Linked DNA regions of Homo sapiens: regions 1, 2, 3, 4, 6 and 7 are each linked to region 5. The links are contacts of gene promoters, found by promoter capture Hi-C in blood cells and fetal thymus (Javierre and others, 2016). All regions are on one chromosome and are shown on one strand. The core of a region is centred on a gene start or on the middle of the fragment in contact, and the rest is flanking DNA. Distances in the headings are between cores, read along the strand shown. Region 1 overlaps SLC28A3 (solute carrier family 28 member 3). Region 2 overlaps SLC28A3 (solute carrier family 28 member 3). Region 3 holds the start of DAPK1 (death associated protein kinase 1). Region 4 overlaps SLC28A3 (solute carrier family 28 member 3). Region 5 holds the start of NAA35 (N-alpha-acetyltransferase 35, NatC auxiliary subunit). Region 6 has its middle 5.6 kb from the start of GAS1. Region 7 overlaps QNG1 (Q-nucleotide N-glycosylase 1).

What was found. Contacts are between HindIII fragments. The CHiCAGO score rates a contact against its expected background, and 5 or more counts as called.
Region 1: a fragment that was not itself captured here is called in contact with the fragment with the promoter of NAA35 in region 5 in 1 of 17 cell types (total B cells); the score reaches 7.3 in total B cells.
Region 2: a fragment that was not itself captured here is called in contact with the fragment with the promoter of NAA35 in region 5 in 1 of 17 cell types (M0 macrophages); the score reaches 5.2 in M0 macrophages.
Region 3: a contact is called between the fragment with the promoter of DAPK1 here and the fragment with the promoter of NAA35 in region 5, in 2 of 17 cell types (fetal thymus and monocytes). The highest score is 6.0, in fetal thymus.
Region 4: a contact is called between a fragment that was not itself captured here and the fragment with the promoter of NAA35 in region 5, in 2 of 17 cell types (total B cells and non-activated CD4 T cells). The highest score is 6.0, in total B cells.
Region 6: a contact is called between a fragment that was not itself captured here and the fragment with the promoter of NAA35 in region 5, in 1 of 17 cell types (non-activated CD4 T cells). The highest score is 5.3, in non-activated CD4 T cells.
Region 7: a contact is called between a fragment that was not itself captured here and the fragment with the promoter of NAA35 in region 5, in 5 of 17 cell types (naive B cells, naive CD8 T cells, total B cells and 2 more). The highest score is 7.1, in naive B cells.

The regions. Positions count from the first base shown.
Region 1 is chr9:84,314,755-84,318,186 of GRCh38, forward strand. All of the region lies in intron 1 of SLC28A3 (solute carrier family 28 member 3), which reads right to left. Among named protein-coding and RNA genes, the nearest start is that of SLC28A3, 24 kb to the right of the region's middle. The HindIII fragment of the contact is 1,015 bases long and covers 1,581-2,595 here.
Region 2 is chr9:84,335,290-84,338,888 of GRCh38, forward strand. The region is part of intron 1 of SLC28A3 (solute carrier family 28 member 3); the gene reads right to left. Among named protein-coding and RNA genes, the nearest start is that of SLC28A3, 3.7 kb to the right of the region's middle. The HindIII fragment of the contact is 3,398 bases long and covers 1-3,236 here.
Region 3 is chr9:87,496,497-87,499,782 of GRCh38, forward strand. It overlaps DAPK1 (death associated protein kinase 1), which reads left to right and starts at 1,371. Exons shown (of 26, transcript NM_004938.4): 1 at 1,371-1,611; 2 at 2,474-2,643. The coding sequence starts at 2,582. RefSeq lists silencers at 1,020-1,079, 1,100-1,449, 1,820-2,009, 2,220-2,329 and an enhancer at 1,720-2,477. The HindIII fragment of the contact is 10,886 bases long and covers 1-3,286 here.
Region 4 is chr9:84,286,492-84,289,941 of GRCh38, forward strand. SLC28A3 (solute carrier family 28 member 3) reads right to left here. Exons shown (of 18, transcript NM_001199633.2): 12 at 1,557-1,687. SLC28A3-AS1 (SLC28A3 regulatory antisense RNA 1) reads left to right here. Exons shown (of 2, transcript XR_001746802.1): 2 at 3,449-3,450. Among named protein-coding and RNA genes, the nearest start is that of SLC28A3-AS1, 10 kb to the left of the region's middle. The HindIII fragment of the contact is 4,681 bases long and covers 1-3,450 here.
Region 5 is chr9:85,939,225-85,942,613 of GRCh38, forward strand. NAA35 (N-alpha-acetyltransferase 35, NatC auxiliary subunit) reads left to right here and starts at 1,922. Exons shown (of 23, transcript NM_024635.4): 1 at 1,922-2,049; 2 at 2,931-3,059. The coding sequence starts at 2,936. RefSeq lists a silencer at 1,826-2,505. The HindIII fragment of the contact is 5,629 bases long and covers 1-2,946 here.
Region 6 is chr9:86,940,239-86,943,520 of GRCh38, forward strand. No RefSeq gene overlaps it. Among named protein-coding and RNA genes, the nearest start is that of GAS1, 5.6 kb to the right of the region's middle. RefSeq lists an enhancer at 483-1,183. The HindIII fragment of the contact is 2,634 bases long and covers 628-3,261 here.
Region 7 is chr9:83,942,855-83,946,236 of GRCh38, forward strand. It overlaps QNG1 (Q-nucleotide N-glycosylase 1), which reads right to left. Exons shown (of 4, transcript NM_032307.5): 3 at 1,940-2,135. Among named protein-coding and RNA genes, the nearest start is that of QNG1, 12 kb to the right of the region's middle. The HindIII fragment of the contact is 512 bases long and covers 1,436-1,947 here.

The DNA of each region.
Region 1 (3,432 bases), core at 838-3,337, 1.6 Mb before region 5:
CAATGTAGTACCCTTGGGTTCTTGGTATAAAAATACAGCATGGGCTGGGTGTGGTGGCTGACGCCCGTAATCCCAGCACTTTGGGAGGCCAAGGTGGGCGGATCACGAGGTCAGGAGATTGAGACCATCCTGGCTAACATGGTGAAACCCCGTCTCTACTAAAAATACAAACATTAGCTGGGCGTGGTGGCAGGTGCTTGTAATCCCAACTACTTGGGAGGCTGAGGCAGGAGAATTGCTTGAACCTGGGAGGCAGAGGTTGCAGTGAGCTGAGATCACACCACTCTGCACTCCAGCCTGGGCGACAGAGCGAGACTCAGTCTCAAAAAACAAACAAACAAACAGCATGAAAAGAAAAAATATACATAGTATGGGAAGATGACAGAATGTTGCTAATTGCTGAAGTTGGCTGACAGGTACCCGGAGAATCATTTTATTATTCTCCTACTTTGGTGGATGCTAAAATGTTCCTTAATACTAAGTTAAAAATAAAACCAAACATGAATTGGTGGAGTAACAGAACACAGGTCACTGAGGGGCTAGTCCTTAGGGTCCCTACTGAGCAGGCCACATTCTCTCAAGCCTTAACTCCCTCATTCATACAACACAGTTTGGATTTGGGGTTCTTGCGGATCCTTACGGAATCCTGACATTTTCTAATTCTATTAGGAGATTCAGCTTCTTGACGTTGATTCCTCCTGCCACCTGGTGGCAGGATCTGAAAACTACTGGTGGAACACGGGTGGATCCTACGTTTTTAAAGTTAATGAAAGTGGAAGGTGTGTGTGTTGAGGGATAGAGTGGGCACTCCTTTAAGTGGCAACAAGAGCACGTGTGGTTTTGTTCTCCACTGTGTAATAGTCTTATTTGGCCCCCAACAGAGTATACGCCTTGGCCTTTTAGTATTTTCTGGAAGAACAATATCTCCCACTTGAGGATTTCCAACAGAATTAGTGGGGTTATTGTGGATATTGACTGGTACCTGGAAAATGACCATTAAGACAACTGTCTTTCTTCTTCTTTTTAAATTAGAGTCGTGGGGCTGTGATATGGGGCCCCAGATAATGTCTTAGCTCAATGTTTCTTTCCATTTATTTAGCAACTCACATTACTAAATACCTTTGCACACTTAACGCCCTACAACCACGACTGCGTTCTCATGGTAAAATCTATCCCTCTGTTGAATGTGTAAGAAAGGTGAGGGAATTGCATTGTGAGTATGTCTAGGCCGTTTACAGCTTACACATTTAATTTCTCTAGTTAGTTTTAGTTGTTAGGTGTGCTAAAAGATGAGGGTCCTGATTGAGCCCCCTTTGAAGGGACAGCCTAGTAACCAGGAGTACATTGTGCCTGGGGTTTGTTTCCCACCATTTCTTTGATCTTGCACTTTCTATGTGGCTATTAGAGGGAGGCAGAGATGGACAGAGGCATTTTTATTTTCTTCCTTTCATTCACTTTCTAAACCATATAATAACTTCTAGAACACTGGAAATTTCTAAAATGACTCCCCTATTTGTGGTATCCCTTTTCAAAGAATGTTAGCTGACACATGGTCACCTAGGAAAAAGATTACATATCCAAGCTTCCCTTGCAACTAAGTTCTGGCAACGAAATGAAAGTAGAAAGGGTGCCCTGTTGGGGGCAGCTCGGGGAATGTTCCGCCAGGGATGGCTGGCAGGTGCACTTGTTCCTTTTTGTCATTTCCTCTGTCTTGCTGCCCAGTGTGAGGATGGTTCCAACTGGACCATGGATACAAGGCCCACATCCTTGTGATGTCAGGGTGCTGAGTTGGGAGGAACTTGGGTCCCTGGAAGCCTTGAGCAGGAGGCTCACCCCGGCTCTGTACCATCCACCTCAACTTTATTGGGATGAAACTAACTTTTCTCTTGTTACTTTTGGTTTTTGCTTTTATTTTGCACCAAATGATACAGTATTTAGTAGGCAGGAGACACTGTGTAAAACTCTTGTCTGGGCGTGGTGGCTTATGCCTGTAATCCCAGCACATTGGGAGGCCAAGGCGGGCGGATGATGAGGTCAGGTGTTCGAGACCAGCCTGGCCAATATGGTAACACCTCGTCTCTACTAAAAATACAAAAGTTAGCTGGGCGTGGTGGCGGGCACCTGTAGTCCCAGCTACTTGGGAGGCTGAGGCAGAAGAATCGCTTGAACCAGGGAAGTGGAGGTTGCAATGAGCCAAGATCGTACCAGTGCACTCCAGCCCGGGCGACAGAGCAAGACTCCGTCTCAAAACAACAACAACAACAACAACAACAACAACTCCAAGAGGCCTATGAGGTGGGTACCATGATCCACATTTTCACAGATGAGGAAACTGAGGCAAAGATAAGTAAATCACTTGACTTGGGTTGTGTAGCCAGAAATGGCTGGGGTAGAATCTCAGCCCAGACTGTCCCTCCCCAGACCATCTTGTGCCTATAGAGGAGTGATTCTTTGGGCCTGGTGAAGATCAAAAGACACAGTAGTGTGCCTAGGAATTAAATTCCGTTTGGAAATTAGAACTTAGAAAGCCTGATTTGAACTCCAGATATTAAAAGACAAAGGTATAAATTATAGAAGTGTTGAAAGTTCCAGAGAAGCTTGTGGCCACTTTTAGCTACACCTAGGCTCTGTGGTCATTTCTCAAGCCACAATAGTGGTCTTCCTGCCCTGTACGCTGGTTTTAAGTGGAATATATCCTTTGAGTAACATGGGTGGGGACTCCTGCCTCTGTGGACATGTCTTGTCATCATGGCTGGTTTGACATTCTTCAGCCTCTCCCTGGCACTGTGCTGTAATCACACAGCCTGGCTTCCATTTCTCAGTTCTTGTGGTGGGGGTTTTTCTGCTGCAGAGGTACCACCACTGTGCTAGGAGAGCCTTTCTTCACTATAGAATTTGCTCTGGCCTGGTTGCCAGAGCAAATTGCATGAGTGGTCTTGCACTCATTCAGTGGTCTTGCTTCTTGTGGGAATGGAGGCAGTACCTACCTAACAAAGTTGGGTGGCTCCATCCAGTGGCACACATAGTAAGTGCTCATTGACTATTAAGTTAATTTCATGGTTTAGTTTGCTTCTCGCTTGTTCTGGGGCATTTACAGTCGTGTTGTCCTCTGTATTTGAAATTAGACTTATCAAAATCAACATCTGTTTGGTGAATCTGATCTCTCAAAATTGTTTGGGATCATACCCCACTTCAACTCTTTTTTTACTCTTACCATCTACCAATGTCAAATGTTTTAAGGCCCTTTCTCTAAATGTTATTCTTCGACTGCATGGATTTTGCCTAGGAATGATTGCATTTTCAAAGACTGTATTTTAGAAGTCCTTGATCGTTATCTATTGGTCTTGACTCACTTGGTTCATGTAACTTTCTGGCTCAAGTCTCGGGTGTGCATAATCCTTAGTGTGAGTTAATGGGCACTAGCTAGACCAT
Region 2 (3,599 bases), core at 288-2,787, 1.6 Mb before region 5:
TGTAATCTCAGCACTTTGGGAAACCCAGGAAGAGATGGGAGGATCACTAGAGGCCAGCCTGGGCAACATAGCAAGACCCTGTCTCTACAAATATAAAAAATAAAAAAACTTAGCCAGTTGTGGTAGCACGTGCCTGTAGTCCCAGCTACTCAGGAGGCTGAGGTCAAAGGATTGCCTGGGCTCAGGAGTTTGAGGCTGCAATAAGCTATGATTGTGCCACTGCACTTCAGCGTGGGTGACAGAGTGAAGCCCTGTCTCTATTTAAAACAACAGCAATAAATAAACAAAGGGAATCACTTCCAAGTTGACATCCCAAGCTGGAAACATTGACTCCACACTTTCCTTAAGCTGCTCAGCATCAAAAGCTGCTATTGTTATGTTCATACTATGTGCCAGGCACTGTTTTCACAAGTATGTATATACGTGTGTGTGTGTGTGTGTGTGTGTGTGTGTGTATAAAATGTCCATTATACATATATAATATTAGCTTATTTAATTATTTCAACAATCCCAAGATAGGTACCATTATTATGCTCTTTTACAGAGGAGAAAACAGAAATCTTCAGAGCCAGAGCAGCATTTAGGCCCTCATCTTTACTCCTGAATTTCATTGTGGAGGGGTCACCTCATCAGTATTAGTACCTCCGTCCCAGTGTCTGCATCCACTGCCTTTAGCCTGGTTTGGATTATGACAGTAACTTCCCAACGGATGTCCCAGCCACACACAAATCCCTCTCCTTTTCCAAGCACTTTCAATGGGGCCACCAAAGTAATATTAAAAAAAAAAAAATCAGCCTGGTGCAGTTGGCTCACACCTGTAATCCCAGCACTTTGGAAGGCTGAAGCAGGCAGATCACTTGAGCTCAGGAGTTTGAGATCAGCCTGGGCAACATGGTGAAACCCGATTTCTACAAAAAAATACAAGAATTAGGTCGGGCACGGTGGCTCACGCCTGTAATCCCAGCACTTTGGGAGGCTGAGGCAGGCGGATCATTTGAGGTCAGGAGTTTGAGACCAGCCTGACCAACGTTGTGAAACCCTGTCTCTACTAAAAATACAAAAAAAGTAGCCAGGTGTGGTGGCATATGCCTGTAAACTCAGCTACTCAGGAGGCTGAGACAGGAGAATTGCTTGAACCCAGGAGGTGGAGGTTGCAGTGAGCCAAGATCATGCCACTGCACTCCAGTCTGGGCGACAGGGTGAGACTTCATCTCTAAAACACAAAACAAAACAAAGACTAGCCAAGTGTGGTGGCGCATGTCTGTAGTCCTAGCTACTCAGGAGGCTGAGGTGGGAGGATTGCTTGAGCCTGGGAGGTTGAGGCTGCAGTGAGCTGAGATCATACCATAGCACTCCAGCATGGGTGACAGAGTGAGACCCTGTCTCAAAAAAAAAATCACAATTTGACTGCGTAAATTCTGAGCGATTCCTTCTAAAATGCCTTAGCACACGCAGAGGCCACCTGACCTGATGCCAGCCTGCCCCCTTTCCCTATACCGTGTTCCCTTCCTCCATCCCAGGCTCATGTGCTCTTCTCCTTTAGGGTTCTGAGTCTGTACAGATAGTTCTCTCTGCTTGCAGTGCTCTGCCCACCCCACCTCCTACTGTGACCTGACCATCCTTAAAGCCCTAATCAAATTCTCCCTCCTTTGGTGATGCTGTCACAGACTCCTCAGTCAGCTCAGCTCCAGCTATATATTATTTACAATGCACTTGGTGCTGGCTGGGTGTTGTGGCTCATGACTGTAATCCCAGCACTTTGGAAGGCCAAAGCAGGAGGATTGCTTGAGGCCAGGGTTTCAGACCAGCCCTGGTAAGATAGCAAGACAAAATATAAAAAATAATAAATATAAGAATACAATGCACTTGGTGCAAACCTCCGCCATTTTCCTTAACATCAATTATATTGTAATTGCATGCTTATTTCTGCCTGTCCTTCTCCTTGAGGGCAAGAAGAGCATATTATTCTTTCTTGAGTTGGTATCCCTTCTTAGAGGCGGCCATATCTAGGGGGCAGTTGATGATTCTACTGAATAAATAGAAATAACCCAGTCACTGTTTTTAGGTGTGGGTGTTGTTGGTATGATACTCTGCTGGGTTTGAGATGCCCTGCTTAGAACCTTGAGGCCTGGGGATGCTAGCCTGTGTGTGTGCGCGCGCGTGTGTGTATGCGTATGTGGGTGTGAGTGTTTGCACACGTGTGTGTGTGTACTTTGTCCTTTCAGGCAGTTATTTTTCCTGAACTGATGGGAACATCTTGCACAAAATCAAGAGCCAGTTTGCTGACTGTTTTAAGGTTTAAAAAATATTTTAAAATAAAATAAGAAATCCTTAGATATTCCACATACACGCAATACTTTAAATGCCAATCCGAACTTCCTTCATAAATAGCAAACGTCTTATTTGCAACTACTGTTGAATGAAGTCATTTCCATCCTCAGCCATATGAGAAATAAGTTCCTTATTCATAGAAAACGTTTAGAGGTACAATAAAATGAGATTAGAAAAAAAAAACCCTAACATTCATTTCTATCGTTGGTTACAAAATCCACTCTCATGTATGAAGTGTGCTCTAGCTGTGAAATCCTTTCTTGGAGGTGAGATCATTTCTCTCTTATAACCCATATCACTGACTTTGTGCTCCTGTTTAACCTTTCCCACTGGAGTACTAGCTCCATGAAAACAGCAATTGGTGCTCCCTTCTTTGAGGAACAGTCCAGATGAGAGCCTGTCCAGGTAATCCATAGATATGCATAACCATTGCACCTGCACCAGGTCTTACAGGCACAGGCCTTTTGGGAACCCATATCAGCATTTCAAGCTGTGAAAGTAGTTCTACTTAGTAAAATTAGAACTTTGGTCTACCAAGGGCACTCTTAATATTTGAAGAAGAAAAATGAATTTCTAGCACAATTCACAGACTAGGACAAGGTGAATAAGTAAGCATCCTAACTTATTTGGAAGTCCTGGTGGCATGTTAATGCATATTTAATAATGCGAGTGAAGTAGCACATATTTTACAATCAATTAATTTTCCTTAAAGAAGATAATGTAGCAGGAGAGCTGAATGTCAAACAAGGTAAGACTCATACTTATTAACTTGGCAGGAGTTATGAGGCCTCTGATTCTCTTGAAAGACAAATTGTCTTCACTATTTTGATTTTGAAATGTAGAAATTCAAATTTCAATCAATCCAATGAGTAAGGATGACAGGAAATTTTACAGAACTAGGAGGAAGCTTCCTTTCATTTTTCCTTCTTTTTATTGGGGCAGGTGTAGGGGGATGTTTCCCCCACAAAACAGCAGTTTTGCTAGAAGACAGTGAGGGATCACCACCGTTGTGTGCCCTCCTCCCTGGGAGCAGCCAGTTGCTGTGACATGGACCTTCTCTATTGCAGATATATTTTCTTGCTGCCATACTTCCTCTGACTCTATCCAATTCCATCCTTTCCATTCTCTGGAATCAGAATGGGCCCATGCTTTATGCTTTTCCCCCTCACTTAGCCCTTAGAGAAGAGATCAGGATGTGCCACCCTCCAAATGCCCACATTTTGGCACAAGAATATTTTGAACTGAAGGCTATGAAAAAGAAAGCAGAC
Region 3 (3,286 bases), core at 121-2,620, 1.6 Mb after region 5:
CTCCACCCAAACATTAGGTGGGAGCAAGGGGTGGGAAGTAGAGAAAGTGGATAGAGGTCTCCAGTGGATATGGGATCTTTGTGTAGACCAGCACAGTCCTCAGAAATCTCATGCAAGCAACATAGGTACTGTTATATTTTCTAGTGGCCACCTTTTAAAAAGTAAACAGGTGAGGCCGGGCGCGGTGGCTCACGCCTGTAATCCCAGCACTTTGGGAGGCCCAGGCGGGCGGATCACGAGGTCAAGAGATGGAGACCATCCTGGTCGACACGGTGAAACCCCGTCTCTACTAAAAATACAAAAATTAGCTGGGCATGGTGACGCGCGACTGTAGTCCTAGCTACTGGGGAGGCCGAGGCAGGAGAATCACTTGAACCCTGGAGGTGGAGGTTGCCACGCTCCACTACACTCCAGCCTGGCGACAGAGTGAGACTCCGTCTCAAAAAAAAGAAAGTAAACAGGTGAAATTAATTTTAATAATATATTTTGTTTAACCCAACGTATCCAAAATACTATCATTTGAAAGTGTAATGAATATAAAAATATTCATGAGATATTTTTCATTCTCATATCCATACTGTCTTGGACTCTAATGTGTATTTTACACTTACAGCACAATTAATTTGGGACTAGCTACATTTCAGCTCAACAATAGCCAATAGCATATGGGATAGCGCAAATAAACTCTGCGTCTCTGTTGCTTCTTTGGGTCTCGGAGACCTCAACCCTTTCTTCAGATTGCAAACCTTCTTGCCTTCAAGCCTCGGCTCCAACACCAGTCCGGCAGAGGAACCCAGTCTAATGAGGTACGCTCCCTTCCTGCCATTCTCTATTCCATTAACCTGTTTCGTGGTAAACGTAGGACTGATCCTCCAAAATTACCTTATTAATTAGCTTACATATTTATTATCTATCTGTCCCACCAGAATGCAGGTTTCCGGAAGGCAGGGATTTAAAAAAATCTGTTTTGTTCTATGTGATTTTCCCATACCAAGCACCGTGCCCGGCACAAGCTGGGATCCCAGTACACATCTCGGGACGGAAGAACCGTGTTTCCCTAGAACCCAGTCAGAGGGCAGCTTAGCAATGTGTCACAGGTGGGGCGCCCGCGTTCCGGGCGGACGCACTGGCTCCCCGGCCGGCGTGGGTGTGGGGCGAGTGGGTGTGTGCGGGGTGTGCGCGGTAGAGCGCGCCAGCGAGCCCGGAGCGCGGAGCTGGGAGGAGCAGCGAGCGCCGCGCAGAACCCGCAGCGCCGGCCTGGCAGGGCAGCTCGGAGGTGGGTGGGCCGCGCCGCCAGCCCGCTTGCAGGGTCCCCATTGGCCGCCTGCCGGCCGCCCTCCGCCCAAAAGGCGGCAAGGAGCCGAGAGGCTGCTTCGGAGTGTGAGGAGGACAGCCGGACCGAGCCAACGCCGGGGACTTTGTTCCCTCCGCGGAGGGGACTCGGCAACTCGCAGCGGCAGGGTCTGGGGCCGGCGCCTGGGAGGGATCTGCGCCCCCCACTCACTCCCTAGCTGTGTTCCCGCCGCCGCCCCGGCTAGTCTCCGGCGCTGGCGCCTATGGTCGGCCTCCGACAGCGCTCCGGAGGGACCGGGGGAGCTCCCAGGCGCCCGGGTGAGTAGCCAGGCGCGGCTCCCCGGTCCCCCCGACCCCCGGCGCCAGCTTTTGCTTTCCCAGCCAGGGCGCGGTGGGGTTTGTCCGGGCAGTGCCTCGAGCAACTGGGAAGGCCAAGGCGGAGGGAAACTTGGCTTCGGGGAGAAGTGCGATCGCAGCCGGGAGGCTTCCCCAGCCCCGCGGGCCGGGTGAGAACAGGTGGCGCCGGCCCGACCAGGCGCTTTGTGTCGGGGCGCGAGGATCTGGAGCGAACTGCTGCGCCTCGGTGGGCCGCTCCCTTCCCTCCCTTGCTCCCCCGGGCGGCCGCACGCCGGGTCGGCCGGGTAACGGAGAGGGAGTCGCCAGGAATGTGGCTCTGGGGACTGCCTCGCTCGGGGAAGGGGAGAGGGTGGCCACGGTGTTAGGAGAGGCGCGGGAGCCGAGAGGTGGCGCGGGGGTGCCACCGTTGCCGCAGGCTGGAGAGAGATTGCTCCCAGTGAGGCGCGTACCGTCTGGGCGAGGGCTTCATTCTTCCGCGGCGTCCCTGGAGGTGGGAAAGCTGGGTGGGCATGTGTGCAGAGAAAGGGGAGGCGGGGAGGCCAGTCACTTCCGGAGCCGGTTCTGATCCCAACAGACCGCCCAGCGTTTGGGGACGCCGACCTCGGGGTGCCGTGGTGCCCGGCCCCACGCGCGCGCGGGGCTGAGGGGTCGGGGGCGTCCCTGGCCGCCCAGCTTTAACAAAGGGTGCTCCTCTCCACCCCGCGAGGAGGGGCAGCTCCGGAGACCCGGTCTTCAGCGAGCGGGGTCTTAGCGCCGGGGAGGTCTACTTCCTTTTGGGGTTGCCATTTTACTATTATTATTGCCTTTTTTTTTTCTTCAAAAGGACTGGAGACTGATGCATGAGGGGGCTACGGAGGCGCAGGAGCGGTGGTGATGGTCTGGGAAGCGGAGCTGAAGTGCCCTGGGCTTTGGTGAGGCGTGACAGTTTATCATGACCGTGTTCAGGCAGGAAAACGTGGATGATTACTACGACACCGGCGAGGAACTTGGCAGGTAAAGGGGGTACCAGAAGCGTACCCTCCTGGATTGTGGAAATGCATAACGATGGGGCCATTGGGTGGTAAACAAATGCAGTTTGAATCAGGCGTCTCCCTCGCCCTTTCTGGAGATGCGCAAATCATAGAGAAAAGAGTTACTAACCCAGCGGTAAACCGCCTGATCCAAGGGCCTGGGGGTGGAGGAGAGGCAGCAGTTCAGGGCTAGATTATGATGCACAGTATATTGATCCAGTCCCCTGGACAAAATCAGATTTAATTGTCCGTGCTAACTCTTGTCAGCCCTTGCCCTTCTGTGACAACAGGACAAACACTAAGATTATAATTGCAATTGGAGTTAGCTTTTATGTGTGATTTAAACGGAGGGTACAAACTAATTAATAGGTTTTAAAAATCTTAGTACTTTACCCTCTATCTAAATTTTCAGTGTAATTTGAGCAAGTATTGGTAGGTGGTAAATGGAGACTTGCCAGATGTTGACATTGGGCTTGGATTTTGAAACTTCTTCCAACCAGGAATTTAATTACCTGGTTGGTGTTGGTGGTTGCTTTGGTTTCATTTACAATGTTAAATTTTTAACAAATCAATGAGAGTCTAATATGGCTATCTGGATTCAGAGCATACCTCCATTGCTGTAGCAG
Region 4 (3,450 bases), core at 423-2,922, 1.7 Mb before region 5:
GCACAGGCTGGTCTTGAACTTCTGGGCTTAAGCGATCCTCTTATCTTAGCCTCCAGAGTCTCTGGGTAACTTACATTACTTTTTAAATTTGGGGACATTTATAATAAAAAATTGGAAAATGATAAAAAATTACAAGTTTAAAAATTATTTTTATTACAAGTAGCTGCCAGAGAATAGTTATAAAATACAAATGGTATAAAAGCTAATGATTCAAAACCAACAACAAACCAATGATCCAAGGAAGCCTGTAAATCCATCACCTCATTTAAAAATGGAGTGCCACCATCACTTTGAATCCCCCTGTGTACTCTTCTTTGATCTCATCCTCCCCTCTAATCTCAGAGGTATCTGTCTTCCTGAAATTCACTCATCATCCCCTTTCTATACAGTTTTCCTACATGTCTGTATTCCCTAAAAAATACATTGTGTGTCCGGGTGCAGTGGCTCACACCCTATAATCCCAGCACTTTGGGAAGCCGAGGCAGGTAGATTGCTTGAGCCCAGGAGTTTGAGACCAGTCTGGACAACATGGTGAAATACTGTCGCTACAAAAAGTACAAAAATTAGCTGGGTGTGGTGCTGCGTGCCTGTAGTCCTAGCTACTCAAGGGGCTGAGGTGGGAGGATCACTTGAGCTCAGCCTGGGTGACAGAGTGAGACCCTGTCAAAACAAACAAACAAACAAACAAAAAAACAACATTGTGCAAGTCTGCACACTGAGTAACTTTACAAGTGGAATTACGCTGTATTCTTTGGTAACTTGCTTTTTCGCTCATGGTTGACTTTATCTACATACAAGTATGGGTGAATTTCAGACACATGTTGGTTGCTGATGAATTCTGTTATTTAATGAAATACTCTTGAACACCCTAAATCCCTTAGTCTTTTCCACTCTGTTTTTTTTTCTTTTTCACAGAGCAAAAGAAAAGGAACCAGCTTTCTTATAGGAGGAACCTCCAGAAATGGTCATCCTATGGCTTTCTGTCTAAACCAAGGCTCCATAAACACTCTGCTATATTTATAAAGAAATATCTTTACAACAAACAGATATGGAAATGTATTGACATTAGGTATTTAGAGAGGTTTATGTCAAGTATTAAACAAGATTTTGGCCAGGTCCCAGCACTTTGGGAGGCTGAGGCAGGAGGAGCCCTTGAGCCCAGGAGCTGGAGATCAGCCTGGGCAACATAGTGAGACCCTGTTTCTAAAAAAAATTAGCTGAGAGTGGTGGTGCATGCCTGTAGTATCAGCTACTTAAGAGGCTGAGGTGGGAGGATAACTTGAGCCTGGGATGTTGAGGCTGCAGTGAGCTGTGTTCATACCACTGCACTCCAGCTTGAGTGACAGAGCAACTTTAAAAAAGTCTTTTTTGAGCAAGACTCAAAAAAAGGAAATAAAATAAGACTTTTTTCTGTGAAGTCTAAATAGTCTTTGGACTAACTTTAATATTGTAATTCACTGTGCTTTCCGGTTATCAAATTTTTGCTGTACATTGACTCCTGGAGTCCCCCGCCCCGGCTTGGGTAGTCATTAATTAGGTGAATGTGTCACACTTACCCACTTTCCATTTTCATGGCATTCTTGAGGGTTATTTTAGGTTTTTCTGTCTCAGGCCAAAAGAGTTTAGCAGCAGCCAATGACGCAGGTGCTGACATAACTGACGCTGTTAACAAGTGGGAGGATGGAACCTGCAATTTCAGAAGAAAGAAGGCAAACCTGGGATTAGCTTTTTTCTTGTGTTCAGAGGAAGGGTCCAAGAGCTCCGCAAGGGAAGAAACAGGGCAGGGGTTGTTTCTATTCCAGAAGACAATGTTTCTTTGGAGGTCTGGAAGAGCCACTCTAGCTCATTGAGCCAAGTCGCGGGCATCACCTTGAGAGGCTGAGGGATAAGGGAGACATTTGTGCTAATTGACCACATCCCTGGGGAGAAGCATAAAACCAAAATCTGATCGTTTCAGAAAAGAATTAATCCTGTGTTGTGGAAACTTTCAAGGAAGATTCCTCTACCTCTCTGTTGCCCTTTTGAATGTTCAGAGAGCCCCTAAAGCATGTATGTCATTACAACTTTTTTTTTTTTGAGATGGAGTCTTGCTCCGTCACCCAGGAGTGCAGTGGTGCGATCTTGGCTCCCTGCAACCTCCGCCTCCCTGGTCAAGCGATTCTCCTGCTTCAGCTTCTTGAGTAGCTGGGATTACAGGAGCCCACCACCACACCTAGCTAATTTTTGTATCTTTTAGTAGAGATGGGGTTTCAACCATGTTGGCCAGGCTGGTCTTGAACTCCCAACCTCAGGTGATCTGCCTGCCTTGGTCCCTCAAAGTGCTGGGATTACAGGCATGAGCCACCATGCCCAGCCTCATTACATCATTTTAGATAGGGGATGGGGAGGGGATGGGGAGTGGAGAAGGGACTCATGATTCATGTGCAGATGTGTATATTCTCCTCTCTCCATCTTCCTTTTGCTCTCCTGAGGTCCTTGGTGCCTTTACACAATCTTCATTGATCTGGTGGCCCTTTAATCTGTACACGACTTCTGTTTTCTTTATTGCAGGTCCACTCGTTCCCCTTCCTACCTGCCCTCACATGGTTTCTGGATTCTCTTCCACATATTTTCAGAATTCCAGGATCAACACCTCCCTCCCTGTTCCTGTTCCCCCCAGAACATTTTTGAGGCAGCATTTCTACAGTGGGGATGGCATTCCCCAGATGATCCACTCAAGCTGCTCCACAGGTGTCCTTTGCTCCTTTCTTCTTGCCTCTTCCTACTAATTGGCACTCCGAGGCCTGGATGAAGACCTACAATGAAGCCCACTTATTTTGTAAGAAATCCTAGTCTCCTGAGTCACACAGTGACTGGGCTGTGTTACTCAGTTTCAATATTGGGGACTGTGTCTATGTGTGGCTTGTAAGCTCTATGGGTCGGGGTGCACGCACCAGTTATAACATTCTCTAGCCTTATACTACAGACTGCCAACTCTCAAACTTGGCTGTACATTAGAATCTGAGAGTTTTAAAAAATATTGATGGCTGGGTCTCATCCCAAGGAACTGTAGTTTAATTACTCTGAGATATGGACCTGGGCATTAGAGAATTTAAAAGCTCCCAGGTGATTCTAACGTGCAGAAAGGTTTGAGAATCACTGCTCTAGACCAGGGGTCAGAAAAGTTTTTCTGTAAAGGGCCAGAGAATAAATATTGTTGTCTTTGTGGATCACAACGACTCAACTCTGTAGCATGAAAGCTGCCAGAGACAAATGAATAGAAGTAGTTGCTTTCCAATAATTCATTTCCAAAAACAGGAGCAATTGGGATTTGGCCCATGGGCCATAGTTTACTGACTCCCAGTCCAGATCACCTTGACTGATGTAATAATTTTTTTTTTAACAGATTTAAATTTTCAACCAAAGCAACTTTATCATATGATTGCATTTTTCTGTTTTTATTCTGCAGAT
Region 5 (3,389 bases), core at 672-3,171:
TGATCCACCCGTCTCAGCCTCCCAGAGGACTGGGATTACAGGCGTGAGCCACCACGCCCGGCCATTTAAAAATTTTTTAAACCAATTTTTGTGAAGTTCGGTTTACAAACAATAAAATGTACACATTGTAAGTATATACTTCAGTGAAATTTTACAAATGTATTCACCCACACAGGCACTACCTTAATCGAAAACAGAATATTTACATCACTTCAAATCAAGCTCTATCCAACTTAGTCTCTTCTTGAGCCCTGAGCAGCCACTAATCTGTCTTCTGTCACTATAGATGTCTTTTAAGAGCCTGGGGTCTCACTTGGGGAATCATACTCTTGCATTTGATTTCTTACTCTGTCGCCCAGGTTGGAGTGCAATGGCACCATCTCGGGTCACAGCAACCTCTGCCTCCTGAGTTCAAGGGATTCCCCTGTCTCAGCCTCCCAAGTGGCTGGGATTACAGGCGCACGCCACCATGCCTGGCTAATTTTTTTGTATTTTTAGTAGAGACAGGATTTCACCATATTGGTCAGGCTAGTCTCCAACCCGACCTCTCCACTGCCAGCCTCCCAAAGTGTTGGGATTACACGCATGAGCTACCAGCTACCAAGCTCAGCCTGATTTCTTTTACTCAATATATTTTTGAAATTCATTCATGTTGTATGTCAAGTAGTTTATCCCTGTTTATTGATAATTACATTCATTACATTGTATGGATATGCCACAAATTGTTTTTATTCAACAGTTGATGGACATTTGGGTTGTCTGTAGTTTTTGATGATTAAAAACAAAGCTGGGCCAGGCACGGTGGCTCATACCTGTAATCCCAGCACTCTGGGAGGCTGAGGTGGGCAGATCACGAGGTCAGGAGTTTGAGATCAGCCTGACCAACATGGTGAAACCCCATCTCTACTAAAAATACAAAAAACAGCCTGGTGTGGGGGCAGGCGCCTGTAATCCCAGCTACTCGGGAGACTGAGGCACGAGAATTGCTTGAACCTGAAAGGCAGAGGTTGCAATGAGCCGAGATCAGGTCACTGCACTCTAGCAGGGGCGACAAGAGTGACACTCTGTCTCAAACAAAAACAAAAACAAAGCAAAACAAAGCTGGTATGAACATTAACGTACAAGCCTTTGTATGAATATGTTTTTGTTCCTAAGTAAATTCGTAGATTACTGGATCGAATGATAAGTATATGATTATAAGGAGAGATTGTTAAGTTTTCCAAAGTGGTTGTACCATTTTGCATTACCACCACCAACATAACAGAGGTCCAGTTGCTCTGCATCCTTGCCAACATTTGGTATTATCTTTTCCATCTTTTAATTTTGGGCCATCCTAAAGAACAGGTGGTGATAAAGATGTGCTTCTTACCTGCGCCCGTCTATTTATGTAACCCCATTTAAAAACTGATCATTTTATTAATAAATTAAAAAAATCTAAAACATATAAGAATCTGAAATTAAATGTCTGGCTTGACTTTGCAGATATTTTGAATCTATGTTTCCTCACGAAACTCCCAGGCGCTGTATAGGAAACATAAATCCGTTGTCAGGCAGCAGTAGCACGCTGTTGCTCTCGGAGCTTGGCTGCTCGTTCGTGCTCGCAACCACTAAGGTCTACGCAAACCTCCACGGTTTCCTTCCGCCTTCGCGTCACCTTTCTAAGAAATTCCCAGAGGGCAGCGCAGACGGGGCGGGCTCTGAGACTCCGGGCTCCGCCTCTTTCCGGGAACCGCCCACTACCCAGGACTCCGACAGAGGGTGAAAAAAGATAACTTCCGGTCTCGCGATCGTCTCTAATCTCGCGAGAAGAGAAGGCGGCCGCCATCGGCCGAACGGAGGCGGTGGCGAGGGAGGGGGTGTGGCCGGGGAGCGCGAAGTCCCCGGGAGTAAGGGAGAGGGGGCGGGGTCGCGCGTCCCGGGCATACGCATGCGTGCACGCTGCCGGTCGGGCTGGGCTGAGAGGGGAGGGGGCGGCGGCGGCCGAGGCGGCGTCGTTATTTCCGTGGTCCGGACAGTGCGTGGCGGCGCGGGTGACCACGGGAGAAGTAGGTAGGGACCGCCCCTGCGTAGCCATTGAAACCCTCTCGCTCGTGTGTCCGAGAGCCGCAGCCCCCCGCGCGTGTGGCAGATCCTGGGGACCCCAGGTCACCCTGCGGCCCCGGCCCTCCCGCTGCGCGTCAGGTAGGAGCGGCGGGCTCCCCAGTGCCCGCTGTCGGCCGAGGCCCCACTCTTGCCCGGTGTTGCCGAGGCGACGACCCGGCGCCGGACGTGCCCGCCCTCCCGCGCGGCGACAGCTCTGTCCTTGCTTATGCGCCCAGTGGGACCGGGGCTGGGCTGGGCTGACCCGGGCAGGGCGGAAGGGAAGCGTGTGCCCGCCTCAGGTGTGCCTCGGCCCTAGGCCCGGCCGGCGGGACCCTGCGGTGCCTGCCGGCTCCTCATTGCTCCCGGCGAGGTTCTGCCTGGGTCCGGGCCGGCTCTGGCCCGGGAGAGGTCCCAGCGAGCTCTGGCCAGATGAAGGGCTACCTTGATTGACTTCGGTAGCTGCCGCATGGGGTCCTGGGCTGCGAGAGGGGACCCTGAATAGTGCCTTGGTCTTTTGTGGCTATTATTGAAAGTTGGAAGCTCTGGAGTTGTTCTTTTCGGGCCAGAGGTGAGATGGTTTGTGATTTTTCTTCTTAAACAGTAGGAAGGCAAAATGTTTATGGGCCCTGGTAGGTGGTGGGCTAATAGTAAGCAGCAGGAGTGTTAATTGACGTGCGATTTGATTGCATTAAGGTTATTCTTTGCAGTACTGTCCTTAGACTCAGAAGAGTTCTGCTTTAAAGAGTTTAGTTAAGACTTCATCCTATGCTGAAACAAACACCCATTTCTGCAAATACTCTTGCCCTGAAAGCTACATCCTCTCTCTTACATCAGTATTAATTTTACAGGCATAATGGTTATGAAAGCTTCTGTAGATGATGACGATTCAGGATGGGAGCTCAGTATGCCAGAAAAAATGGAGAAAAGCAATACAAACTGGGTGGACATTACCCAAGATTTTGAAGAAGCTTGTCGAGGTGAGTCTGATTTTTGGATTAGAAGTTCAGCATCTGGAAGGGGTAGAATGACGATTGTGCTTTCTAAACTTACCTCATTAGATGAAATCAACAGGTAAATGTGGTTTGTTGAGTTTGTTAGCCACACTTATTCTGTATCCTCTAATTTTAACTTTAAAGCAAATGTATATTTGATACAGCATTAAATACAGATGTTGAGGCAGTATTTTAAAATTGAATTTTTCTTGCTTTAACAGGTTAGAGAGAGCAGTAATTTCTAACTGTGGAAAACACTTTGTTAATCTAAAAGATAATAGTATTTTTGTATGTTTGAGGTTTCAGTATGATCAG
Region 6 (3,282 bases), core at 695-3,194, 1.0 Mb after region 5:
AGGTAAGAAGTGACATGGATTAAAACCCAAAGGCTGGCATTTTTCCTAAAAGAAATGTCTATGACAAAGACCTCAAATCTCACTGAAATTGTTCCTCATTTTGATGCTTAGTAACATCTAATCAGGGATAAAATATACAATCAGATTTAGTTGTGGTATTAACCCCATTCTGGTATCCAAGAACCCGTAAATATCCTATAGCACTTCTAAAATTTAAATAAAAGATAAACTTGTAAGGACACATACTGATAACCAGAGAACATAAAGTTGTCTATAATAGCATTTTATTTTTTATTACAGATTGAAGATGTCCTTGACAACATTGTGTAGATGCTATCTGTGTGCTTAAGGAGAACATGCTATAGATAATTATAGTATATACCAGCACCATTGAGAGTAGCTGTCTTTGATCAACTTTATAAAATTGAACTCTTAGAACAACAAAATCAGTAAAGTATTGTTTTGGTGAATACCGTATCAAAAACCATAGACATTTGATTTTATTATGGAACCCATGCTCCTGAAATAAGTGGAGAAAACACTTTCTGCATCTCAGCAGCCCTTCGGGATTCTCTTGCATGCATATTACACAGGGTTTGAAGGTAGCCCTCCAAAATATTAGCTGAAAGCTTCCTCGGAAAGCAAATCTTTCCCACATCCTTCCCTGCAGTTCCTCTTTAAGAGGTGTCAGCATGGCTGAAAGAATGAAGTGGCTGCACATTGTTTGGCTGTGCTATTATGTGCTTAACATTTCCATAACAAAAGTGCCACTCGACTTCTCCCCGATTAATGCAGCTCGAGGGCTCTTGTCGTCCTTTAATAAAACATTGTTGAAATCATTTATTTAGAGCCCCTGGTTACTAGTGGGAGAATGACCATCTTTGTGCCAAAATATAGTGTATACAGTCCACTATTTTGTAGTAGATCATTCTGTTATTTAAGAAATTGATTAAATTGATGCTTAGAAGGAAGGTATTTATGCTAATAGCACATGACTTATGTCATTCAGATAGTCAAGGGTGAACCTTTTCCACTGTCTTCCAGAGGCAATCTCTCAAATAGACTACAGTAAAGTCCAACTTTACTTCACTCACAAGGCAACGAGACCCACTGGAAACTCAACCCTCCTTAACTACATTGGCCACAAGGCATTTGCAACCTGATGCCCTCCCACAACCTTGCTTTGAGTAGCTGGGAGAAACAGGGTCAATTGGCAAGAGTTCTGATGTCCCTTGGTGTAAGAGGTCAAAACACAAATAACGCAGGCTTTTCTTTTTATGGGTTGAAAAGAGATACATGAGGTTATTTTGTTAGAGAGCCTCCACAATGAACTCAACAAGCTAACAATGCAAAGCCAAAGTTTAAAAGTAGACAAAATTTTAATACAATGTTTGAGGTTTCTGAAAGTCCTCATTGTATTTTGGGGATCTATTTTTATTTGATTCTCTGTAACATTGCTGGGATGGGGTGAGGGTGTCAATACAGATGGTGGCAAGGAACAGAGAAAGCTCACTCCCATGAGGGTTCTCCTGACTCTTCAAGGCAGAGAGATGGAAAGATTCTGTCTTCACTCACAGGGACCCCATCTGGAGAATGGCGGTGCACCCTAGATGTGTTAGAGCCTGGTGGTCCCTTAAATTTGTGGCAGTCAGGGCCAGGAGCTGTGTCCATCCTTCTAGACATTTGAAGCGTTGCTGTCCAAGTACAGAGAAGTCCTGCTACTTAGTAGAAGAACTTATTTCCCTACAGACACGTTTCCACTTTACATACGTGTATTGCTCACGTACATAGCTATATATTGTTTAAAATAAACAGGGACCTTATGTTATGTCCATTGTGATTATATACAAAAGCGTTGCTGTGTGCTCGGGTGAGCAGTGAAGCCTGAACCTCCTTCTATTTACTGTATGGTCACTGTCAGTTCAATGAACTGCCTCCTTGTTCTCGACCATTGTCCCACACTCCCTTAAACATTTGTCACTGAAGTGCCTCCAAAGACAAATAAACTGTCACTGAGAATTCAAACCTGCTAACTGGGGAAATGGGAAAGGCCGTGAGGACTCATGATTTTACATGAAATCTAGAAGGAGTTCCTCTCACTCTGGCAGAGTTCTGTTAGAAGGGTGATGCTTTTTGAGAATCCCCAGGAAAAGCCAGAGATACCTTTTCTTTCATTAATGGGACTTCCAGCCATTCTCCATGGGACATTTGAGATGGCCAAATGTCCAAAATTCCAAAAGGCTCCCCAGAGAGCGTGAGATATTACAGATGTCAACATCTGTAAAAATCCTTTCTGCTTAGAAGCAGATGGCAATATGCAATCTCATAACCACTAGCCAAAGGGTTCTAACATCTCAACAACCTCCGCTAGGTCTGTAGGGGTACCAGAGGACTCCTGGGCTCCAGTGTATAATTGTTTAAATTAAAATGGACCACCAATCAATGTTCACTTTCTTTAAGGAAGAAAACATAAAGCCTCGTGTCCTCTCTCCCCAAGAGCGAGTTGTGTTGATTTATTCCAGGCAGATGCTTTTGACAGGACCCTGTAAAATCAAGTTGTGAGTTTATTGTAGCAGTTAATTATCAGGCCTTTTCTAGTGCTAATGCCTTTTACTTCTTACTGGGGAAAACTGGGCCTTTTACTGGGACAAAGACTTAACTTTTAGTCAAGCATGTGTTAAAATAACATGAGATGGAGATGATTTAAATATATTTAAGGACAAACGCAGGAGCACTGCTAACTTGTCGTTTTGTAAAGAAAGCTGATTTCATTTACAAGTCTCTGGGAATACTCTTTGTTCGCTTCCCAAAGAAACAACGCTCTCAGCTTTGTTTTAACAATATGTTTACTCAACCATTCAGGTGACTGGAGATTCCAACCACACACCACTCTCCTGGGCTTAAGTCTGACACTACAGCTATCTTAGACTTTCTAATACTATACATATAGAAATCGTGGTTTTAGGTGCACCAAGAAGTGTCTTGAATACCTCCATAAAAGCTGGGAAAAGAGCGAGTTAGAAGCACAAGAAACCTTGAAAAGTAGGGGGGTGGGAGTGGGTATGAGGAAGTCAGAATGGGGGCATAGCTTCGTTAATTACTTTAGGCAGCAGAGAAATCTGGTTATGTTTTTTCAGCACATGTTAATATCAAATAAAGAGACACCAGATCTTGCTAATCTGTCGACCCCTCAGACAAAGTTTATTTGTGGTGACTTTTAAACTCCCGACTTGCCTTCCAATCACCGCGTTTAAAATGAAAAGCTTTAAACAAACACCAGGA
Region 7 (3,382 bases), core at 442-2,941, 2.0 Mb before region 5:
CTGGAGTTGAAATGGATGGGAGAAGAAAATTCTGACATCTCTGTACAACTATGCTGGATGATCCCTTCTCACTAGGGTTTTTCTCATAGTAGCAGAGACAATTAAGTGCCATAAAAACTGAGAAGGAGATGGACAAATCACTATAAGTGAGGACAGCATTTGAGTGAAGCCTCTGTGATGTATAGGATTTGAATTGAAAAAAAGAAGCTGGGCGTGGTGGCTCACGCCTGTAATCCCAGCACTTTGGGAGGCTGAGGAGGGTGGATCATGAGGTCAGGAGTTCAAGACCAGCATGACCAGTGTGGTGAAACCCCGTCTCTACTCAAAATACAAAAATTAGCCAGGCATCGTGGCATGCGCCTGTAATCCCAACTACTCAGGAGGCCGAGGCAGGAGAATGGCTTGAACCTGGGAGGCGGAGGTTCTGGTGAGCCGAGATCACGCCACCACACTCCAGCTTGGGCAACAGAGCGTCTCAAAAAAAAAAAAAAAAAAAAAAAAAAAGAAAGAACACTGGACGATGGAAACCACGTAAGAGAATACTCAGAGACAGGAATGAACAGTGTGTACAAAACAAAAAAAAAGCAGCTTAATATGGCCATATGAAAAATAAGCCCTGATTGCTAAATGTTGTCCCTTTTAAAGGTATCCAACAATTAGTGACCCTTGACATGGGCATGATGACAAAAAATAGCATGTTCTTTTTCAAATGAGGAAATGGAAGACAAAACAGATTGCCCATGGCAGCATAAAAACCCAGTAGAGCCAACCATAGGAATAATGGTACCTTTATATTCTGTGTTATTCTGATCTGGGGGATTCAAATCTATTTCACAAGAGGAAATTATTCAATCATAGAATCTACTTCTTTTAAAAAAATACATAAGGCCGGGGTGGTGGCTCACACCTGTAATCCCAGCACTTTGGGAGGCCGAGGTGGGTGGATCACAAGGTCAGGAGATCGAGACCATCCTGGCTAACACGGTGAAACCCCGTTTCTGCTAAAAATACAAAAAATTAGCTAGGTGTGGTGGCGGGCGCCTGTAGTCCCAGCTACTCGGGAGGCTGAGGCAGGAGAATGGCCTGAACCTGGGAGGCGGAGCTTGCAGTGAGCCAATATCGCACCACTGCACTCTAGCCTGGGCAACAGAGTGAGACTCCGTCTCAAACAAACAAACATAAAGAGGCCAGGTGCAGTGGCTCACGCCTGTAATCCCAGCACTTTGGAAGGCTGAAGTGAGAAGACTGCTTAAGCCCAGGAATTCAAGACCAACCTGGGCAACATATTTTTTAAATAAAATAAAATAAAGAAAAAAGTAGCAGAAAATTTTGCACCTAAAAGAGAAATTAACATGAAAATCATATAATTATTTTCCTCATACAAGGAAATGTTATAAGCTAATTTTCACACAAACTTTTCAACCCAATTTACCTAAGCTTATATATCATAAGGCTCCTAGTCTTGATATCAATAATCATATCCAATAATGGCGAATAAGCCTAAGGAAGTGAGTGACTTGTGCAAGATATCCCAGTGCAGACCTTGGAGTCTCTTCACTCAAAAGCCAATTCATATTACCTATCTTTCAACCTACCTTCATATAACCATGTAGTGTGCTCTTCAGCTTAACACTCTTCAAATACTATAACTGATGAACTATCAGTGTTACATACTTTCATGTAACATAAATTTAGGTTTCATTAGGCTATGAAATTATAATGTTCAAATAGCACAATTTTCTACAATATCCACATTTCACAGTGTAAACAAAAAGAAAAATCATTTTCTCTACATTTTGTCTTTGCATTTTCCTTTTTACATATACTATGAACAATAAATAGTACTTTTTTTTTAAAGCAAAGGAGACCTTTTGTAAAAGAAACTAAACCGAGATCCAACAATTCATAGTATAACAAAGAATGACTTAAAGTTGCAAACCTTTGAGAAGCTTCTTCAGTAGGTCATCAGAGTATTTCAGGGCTCCAAGATGAGCAAGAACCTGAGGTAATCTATAATCAGCAAACATGGTGATACTGGAGATGTCCTTGAAGCAGCCATCTCCTTTTCCTTCCAATACACTCCACGTATCTGCTACAAGGATTTGGGCTCGTTTGTAAAAAGAAACTCTTTTCCCCTGATGAATGAAGAGAATATAAACGTTATTTGAGTATCTGAAAGCTTTATATATGCTATTTTTTAAAGGTGCAGTTGAAACATTTTTTAAAAGGCAGAATAATCTTACTTTGTTGGTAAGAATTTATAGATTGGCCGGGCACCATGGCTCCCGCCTGTAATCCCAGCACTTTGGGAGGCTGAGGTGGGCAGATTGCTTGAGCCCAGGAGTTCAAGACCAGCCTGTGAAACATGGCATAACTCCAACTCTACAAAAAAAAAAAATTAGCTGGGCGTGGTGGCACACATCTATGGTCCCAGATACTCAGGAGGTGAGGTGGGAGAATCGCATGAGCCTGGGAGGTCAAGCCTGCAGTGAACTGTGATCACACCACTGCACTCCAGCCTGGGTTACAGAGGGAGACCCTGTCTCAAAAAAAAAAAAAAAAAATTCATAGATCTTTTACAAGAAACAAAAGGATTTAATGAACATTAAATTTTCTATCACTCCAAACTCGCTTCCCATTTTTCAAGGCACATAAAATACAATTTATGTAATCTTGATACTACTTACTATTCTTTTTCAATGGCATTACTTCATATACAGATTTCTGCAATATAATCCTAGGGCTTATTATTATTATTATTTTTTGAGACGGAGTCTTGCTCTGTCGCCCAGGCTGGAGTGCAGTGGTGCAATCTCGGCTCACTGCAAGCTCCGCCTCCTGGGTTCACGCCATTCTCCTGCCTCAGCCTCCCGAGTAGCTGGGACTACGGGCGCCGTCACCACGCCCGGCTAATTTTTTGAATTTTTTTAGAAGAGACGGGGTTTCACTGTGTTAGCCGGGATGGTCTCGATCTCCTGACCTTGTGATCTGCCCGCTTCGGCCTCCCAAAGTGCCGAGATTACAGGTGTAAGCCACCGTGCCTGGCCCAAGGGCTTATTATTTTAAATGTGTAGATAGCATTCCTTTTGAAAGTTTCTTAAATTAAAACACGTCTGTTTTTCTGATTGCAATATAATTCACATTAATTGTATAATATACAGCCAAGTATAGGCCAGGCATGGTGGCTCACGCCTGTAATCCCAGCACTTTGGGAGACTGAGACAGGAGGATCACGAGGTCAGGAGTTCGAGACCAGCCTGGCCCATATGGTAATACCCCGTCTGTACTAAAAATACAAAAATTAGCTGGGTGTGGTGGCGATCGCCTGTAGTCTCAGCTACTCAGGAGGCTGAGGTAGAAGAATTGCTTGAACTTGAGTGGC